Linked DNA regions of Homo sapiens: region 1 is linked to region 2. The links are contacts of gene promoters, found by promoter capture Hi-C in human tissues and cell types (Jung and others, 2019). All regions are on one chromosome and are shown on one strand. Each heading gives the region's core, a stretch centred on a gene start or on the middle of the fragment in contact. The rest is flanking DNA. Distances are from core to core; before and after follow the strand shown.

Region 1 (3,812 bases), core at 1,278-3,777, 41 kb after region 2:
ATCTTTAGTGAGAAGAACATGCCCTCACAATCTGTTGTTCACATACAGAGCTCATGTAAAATTTAAAGTAAATCATCTGAAAAATAAAGATATTTTAAGATGAAAATGGAGTCACATTTACTCTCATTTTCTGTGTTCAGCCATTATCTCAGACTGATTTTCAAAGTGTTTTTGTTAACACACATATATTAGAAAAACTGCTAGGTAAACTAACACAAATGAGGATGTCTGTAGAAACGGACATAAAAATGGGAACAACAGACACTGTGGAGGCAGGGAAAAAAGGGAGGTGTGGGTTGAAAAACTACCTACTAGGTACCGTGCTTAGTGAGTTGGGCACTTAGTGAGATAGTGATCTGGGCAATGGGATCTGTACCCCAAACCTCAACATCACACAGCATATCCATGTGTACCCCGAGTCTAAAATAAAAGTTGAGCCTGTAATCCCAGGACTTTGGGAGGCCAAGGCAGGTGGATCACGAGGTCAGGAGATCGAGACCATCCTGGCCAACACTGTGAAACCCCGTCTCTACTAAAAAAAATACAAAAAATTAGCCAGGCATGGTGGCGGGCACCTGTAGTCCCAGCTACTCGGGAGGCTGAGGCTGGAGAATTGCGTGAACCCGGGAGATGGAGCTTGCAGTGAGCTGAGATTGCACCACTGCACTCCAGCCTGGGCAACAGAGCAAGACTCCGTCTCAAAAAAAAAAAAAAAAAAAGAAAAAAAGAAAGAAAAATAAAAGTTGAAATGATAAAAAAAAGAGATGGTTTTATTCCTCTTAAAAAAGCAAATTTAAATATAATAAGTGACAAAACTTATATCTTGCATTTGTACTTGACATTGTTCTTGCAGTCCTGATAATTTATTTTTAAATATTTAAGTATTATTTTAGGACTAATTTCTAATTCTTGATGCCCAGAAATGAAGTCATCATTTTCAAAATCTCTACTGGACTGGGCTAGAAATTTGACTTTTCACTGTGACTTTTCATCTCTTGAATATAAAAAAACAGAGACATTCATATCTTTCCCCTTTATCTTACAGAAAAGGTTTGATATAAATACACGAGATTTGGGTTTTACCTGTCATTTTGGGGAGAATGCCATTTTTTATTTATCAGTGACTAATTGAGAAATGATTGGATCTTATATATCTTTAGTAAGAAGCCCTTACATTTATTTTCGGGCGCCATCGTTATTTGACATCAAACAATTGAAAGGCAATTCTTAAATAATCGATGATACAAAAGTGAATGGCTACTGAAACAGATATGCTAAAAATAAAAATCTCATACTTTCACCTAGATATAAAATTGAATGGAAGGCCGAGGCAGACAGATCACAAGGTTAGGAGAGGGAGACCATCCTGGCTAACGCGGTGAAACCCAGTCTCTACTAAAAATACAAAAAATTAGCCGGGCGTGGTGGCGGGCACCTGTAGTCCCAGCTACTCAGGAGGCTGAGGCGGGAGAATGGTGCGAACCCAGGAGGCAGAGCTTGCAGTGAGCCAAGATTGCGCCACTGCACTCCAGCCTGGGCAACAGAGTGAGATTCCGTCTCAAAAAAAAAAGAAGGCTGAATAGATTATTTCTACAGAAAAAAGTTCTTTGAAAGTTAATCAACATAATAATTTTAACATCACATATAAAAATGTTAAAATATTAAATTATGAAAAATGAGATTCGTATCAACTGGGAAATGAAACTGGATAAATAATTCTTTATGAAACAAACTCACACATCTGAGGGAGGCCATATTAGCTGTTAATCTTGTTGAGAAGGTACCTGTTTAAAGCTTCAATCTACAACATCAAACCTATTGAATTGTTCAAAACCAAATATATGTTTTAATAAGTTAGAAGTATGTTAAAATTAAATCAATTTTCACCCAAAATACAAGTTCAAAAATGTGTAGAATAATTTCAACATGTTGTATAAAATTTCTAAAAGTTTTATATTCCTGTAGTGATAGCTGTCCACTCTTGGGAAACTTTCCTGTCAAAACTAAGAAAAATAGGGTTATATACAACATGGTACCTACAATTATGAGGTGTATGGCTTACCAATTGTTTTAATTGATAGAGTAAATCATATTTACAAAATTCATACATGCTAAGCACATTGTGTATCTTTATTTTTGCCTGTCTTCTTCCCTGAACAAACACCATAGACATTCATTATGGATACTCAACTTGCTAGCTCTAGAAACAGATAAAGTGAAGATAATCAAAGCTATATGGCTGGAAGATAGTTTTGGGCAATGTGAAATCATTAACATATTGTAAGAAAGCCCCTAATTCATAGTAAATGTTATGTTGAAGTATTTCTTTGAAAAGATTTGTTGTTAAAATACTAATTTATTGCTTCTCAAAATGTATTGAACAGCATACAACATAGGAAAAGCTTGCCAAAAGCAAAATGACATTTTGACAAGAACACTAAATTTAGTTTTCTTAATTAGTATTTTAACAACAAATATTTTCAAAGAAATATTTCAAAAAAACCATTTACTTTTAAAGTGGAAGTATGGGAAATAAATGTTTATTTTACTGCCATTTCATTAGGAAATGGGGAGTGGATGGTCCACCTCAAGAATTAAAGTTTCTTAAGATTACTGTGGTTTGTTGTGTCATTTCTATGCATTAATAACTGAAGTTGAGGAGTTTATAGCTGATTATTTTGGAAATAAACTTGTTAATACTTTCTCTGGAACTTTTGTTTTGAGACTTGAAAAATGTCTATGAATTTTTTGTTGCAGTAAGGAAGATAAAAAGTTTAGAAATTGCATGCTTCCCTTATTACAATATAACCTGCCTTTATGTTTGTCTAAATGGCTTTGTCTTCAAGTAGGTAGAGCCCTAAATATAATATAGAATAACAGACATGAGTTTTTTAAAAATTTCAAAATACTGTTGGCAATAGTTATTTAGAATTCAGAATATATTTTCTTTTATGGAAAAAGAAATAGTAAGTTTTAAGTAACTCCTAAGGTTAACAATACATATATATAATCCAATGTGTAGCTGAACAATAAAATTAAATACAATAGTTTAATTTATTAAGTGGTCAGTGACTTATTTTAATCACTAAAATCCGTGTTAAGACTACGTCATTTAGGCCTCGTGCGGTTGCTCGTGCCTGTAATCCCAGCACTTTGGGAGGCAGAGGCGGGTGGATCTCTTGAGCTCAGTAGTTCGAGACCAGCCTGGGTAAAATAGCAAAACCCTATCTCTACAAAAAATACGAAAATTAGCTGGGAGTGGTCGCACACGCTTGTAGTTCCAGCTACTTGGAGGATCGCTTGGGCCCGGGGAGGCAGAGGTGGCAGTGAGTCGAGATCACTCCACTGCACTCCAGCCCAGACAACAGAGTGAGACCCTTCCCTCTCCCCCGCCAAAAAAAGACTACGTCATTTAATCGTGGAATAGGTTTATACATTCAATATATAAGAAATTTAGAGTATTCATATCAATAAAATTTGAGTACTCATATCCTATTTTCTTGACTATATATATTTAATATTGAACTTTTAAAATTGAATTTTAATACAGACTTTTGAAATTGTCAAACAAAAACAAACAAATGTATTTAAATTCTGTTTCTAACGAAGATTATGGCCAAAATCTTTACTCTCATACTTAGAAATGATGAATAAATTGTAACTAAAAGTGAGGTGTGTGTGTGTGTGTGTGTGTGTGTGTAGTGTCAAAAATGAAGAAGGAGCATTTAAGAGCACAAGTTGATATTGCTTATCTAGGAGGTGATTATCAAATTCAGAAACAAACTATAATGCCCAAGAATTTGAGCCATAAT
Region 2 (3,705 bases), core at 727-3,226:
GAATTTCTCTTTGCCACTCTAGTCTAATTGTTCTCTAAGACCTACTGATTCTGCTTCTTTATCCTGTCAGGTCTAAAGGAAATCATCTATATTCAAATTCCTGCTCTACTTCATATCATCAATATGATCTCAGGCAAATTGCTTAACCTTTCTGAAACACAGTGTCTTTAATAACAGTACCTATGTCATAGGTCTTTGTGATGATTAAATAATATACGTAAAAACTACCTAACGCATGGAAAAAAATGCAATGAATGTTAACTTTAGTTATTATTATTACTATCTTTTTTCAATATCCTTCCCATCATCCCCTCTGCCACTGGCCCAGATCATCATCAACTCTCACCTAAATTACTGTAATTGCCTCTTAACTAAACATCTTTCCTCTAATCTTGCATTCGCCAATATATTCTCTACCTAGGAGCAAAGTTTTTTGAACTCAAAGTAAATCATGTCTTTCTCCTGCTAAAACCTACTAAAGACTTCCCATAGCTTTTAGAGTAATATCCAAATTCCTCAACATGCACATAAGGACTGCTTTTTACCTCAAAGGAAGGTACAGCACAGTCTGTTATCCCGTAAGTTCCAGCTCAACTTTCGTGATCTGTCAGAACCAAAAGCTCTCTCATGTTCACACATCACAATGCTAATATCACACCTATTAATTTTAATTGGAGATCAGGTGATTGATCTGTCAGACCCCACAGAAATGTGATTATCTTTAGTTCCGGGACTATATTTATTCATCTTTGTACCTCAGAAACTTACTCCAATGTTTCACACACGAATTTGATAATTGTTCGCTAAATAAGTACTGAATAAGAATAACTTATTGAAATATTCAATCTCAAATGTTATGACAAAGATAAAAACCATACCTAAACCAGTTCTCATAAATAAACTCAACACTTAAAAACTGCATTCCTTTTAGTAGGAAAAAGCATTCTGAGTTATAGAAATTCTTACCTGAATATATTTCTTGCTATAATTGTAACCTGGCTGTAGGGATCCGAAATCTACTTTATGTAATTTACTCAGCGGCTGAACTTCAGGCACCCCATTGACTTCCTTTATTAATTCAAGTGGCATATCAGTTCTGCTTCACACTGATGTCCAAAGCAAATTCAACTAGGGAATCTGACAACTTGCTGCTGAAAATACAAAACCAGTGTTTTACCCAAAATGAAGTCAATAATTTGCTTTAAGTCTCTTTGACTTAGTTATGCTTTTCCTTATTATAGTTAACACGGTTCGGGGTTGGGGGGTGACAGGAGGATGGATTATTTTACAATTTTATTGCAAAGATCAATACAAAACATTCTTCCAAGGAACTGAAACTTAACCATTTTCTACTTAGCTGCGTAAAGTACCTCCAAAAAGCCAGTTTTAAGATCTGTAACGTCACTAACAAACGCTTTTAACATTGTGCTTTAAAATGTAAAATTTATTGGGGAAGAGGGAGGCTGAAAAATCGTGTTTTTTTTTAACCCCCACGGGAGCTGTAATATTGTATAGACAAACTGTGCACCAAAAGCATCGTACTCCAACATGTTTCTGTGGCCCCCTCCCTTCACCCGCTAAATAAATGAAGAAACAAAAATTACTGAACTGAGATTAACTTCTGCATCGTAGGCTCAACCTTATTTCACAGACCTCTTGACGGGGACACTCACTAGTGTCGATATCTAATTTTAATGTTTGCGCACCAACCTTCCCCCAAGCCACCTGAGCTCTGTGAGGGCGGGGACTTGGACTTAACTCCTGTCTGCTTCTCCCAAAACACCAAGAAAGATGCTGAACACAGCAGGCTCGAGATAAACACTCGTAAGAAAGCGTTTCTCTGCGATAATTACATCAAATTTTGATCTAAACTAATTCAATCCCGGGCCCGTTACGTCTGGCACCCACTCAAATGAACACACCAAACCTTACAAATTTCACTCACCCGTACTCTAGAAAGAACCCTAGGAAGAGTTTAGGCGGGCGCGCAGGTGACGTCACACGCACGCTGACGGTTCAGCTCCACGCATGCGTGCAGGATCCCTGGGCATAGTCGCTTGTTCTCCGCCCGCGGTGGACCAGCTGCGTAACGGTTCACACACTGATGGCGCCTGGAGGTTTGGCGAAATACTGACAGGATGCGACGTCAACGGGAGCGCAGGGCCAAGGTACAGGCCCCGCCCAGTCCGGTCACATCCCCCGGAATTCTCGCAGCTCCCCTTAGCTCCGCCCCCAGTGACTTTCCAGCTTTCGTGGCGGGAGGCAAGCTTAGGGGAAGCGGGCGGGTCCGCTGGGCGGGATTTGAGCTTCCCTTTGGTAGATTCGAAGCTCCTGTAGGCAGAGCCTTTCTTTTAATGTCCAGTTCTCTTCCTCCAAGAAATAGGCACCTACTGCAGTCTTTACAAGGAAGCATTTACAAGGATAACAATGTTATTTGGGAGTTTTTATAGTAATTTCGGGCATTGGCATAATGCCACCATTGAGTCTTGCTATTTACAGACAGATTTGATTAACCTTGTCATTGTTTTATAGGGCCATGATTTTGTGGTATAATTAATATTTATTATAATTTATTTTATAGGTTTATTATAGTTTATTTAATATTTATTATAACTTATAATTGATAAATATTATAATTTATCATTTATAATGATAAATTGTTAAACATGAATTCTCTGCTAATTCCAGATATATGCCTTCAATCATTTAAGTGAAATCATCCTAGTGTGAAACTAAATGTAATAAAGAATTACATGAATATTTCCAAGGCTAATTTGAACTAAAATATCTTCTTTATATACATATTTGCAGGAGGATATAGCTAACTTTTTTTTTTTTTTTGAGACGGAATCTCGCTCTGTCACCAGGCTGGAGTGCAATGGCGCAATCTCGGCTAACTGCAACCCCCACCTCCCGGGTTCAAGCAATTCTTCTGCCTCAGCCTCCCTAGTAGCTGGGATTACAGGCGCAGGCCACCATGCCTGGCTAATTTTTGTATTTGTTTAGTAGAGACGGGGTTTCCCATTTTGGCCAGGCTGGTCTCGAACTCCTGACCTTGTGATCCGCCCACCTTGGCCTCCCAAAGTGCTGGGATTACAGACATGAGCCACTGTGCCCAGCCAGCTATGTTTGAAGTGCCTTTTTAATCAACAGGAAGCATTCAGTATTAGCCCATCTCCTGTTTCCCCTCCCCATCCCTGTAGTTATATCCCACGCAGAAGCCGGGGTGACAAGTGCATGAACTCAGGAGCTGTCCATTTGAGGAAAACTATAGGGAAGGTTTAGATGCTATCCTCCTTCCATCTCTGGCTGCATCCGGCTGAGAAATACTATTCCTCCTTTTTATGTGAAGCCCTCCACATGGGCTTTGGACCCTGACCAATTTCATCTCCCTTCCATCATCATCAATATATTTTCTCTTAATGTATTTTAAGCTTTCCTTCTTTTATTCATTCTTTCCCGTCACCATTTAAACACATTCTCCCAGGCTCTTGCTCTGTCGCCCAGGCTGAAGTGCAGTGGCGAGATCATAGCTCGCTGCAGCCTGGAACTCCTGGGCTCAAGCTATCCTCTGGCCTCAGCCTTCTAAGTAGCTGGGACTACAGGCACAGGCCACCACACCCGGCTAATTTTTTAAAAAAATTTTGTGGAGACGAGTTCTCACTATGTTGCCCAGTCAGTCTCACACTCCTCTGTGGGTACTAA

The links. The method cuts DNA at HindIII sites, captures the fragments that hold promoters and counts their contacts. A contact is called where the count stands out against the background at its distance.
Region 1: a fragment that was not itself captured here is called in contact with the fragment with the promoter of POT1 in region 2 in 1 of the 25 tissues and cell types used here (hippocampus).

Annotation. Positions count from the first base shown.
Region 1 is chr7:124,968,113-124,971,924 of GRCh38, forward strand. The region is part of intron 2 of POT1-AS1 (POT1 antisense RNA 1); the gene reads left to right. Among named protein-coding and RNA genes, the nearest start is that of POT1-AS1, 40 kb to the left of the region's middle. The HindIII fragment of the contact is 4,786 bases long and covers 135-3,812 here.
Region 2 is chr7:124,927,849-124,931,553 of GRCh38, forward strand. POT1 (protection of telomeres 1) reads right to left here and starts at 1,977. Exons shown (of 19, transcript NM_015450.3): 1 at 1,946-1,977; 2 at 967-1,151. POT1-AS1 (POT1 antisense RNA 1) reads left to right here and starts at 2,025. Exons shown (of 8, transcript NR_125719.1): 1 at 2,025-2,168. RefSeq lists enhancers at 1,913-2,212, 1,967-2,261. The HindIII fragment of the contact is 5,005 bases long and covers 1-2,850 here.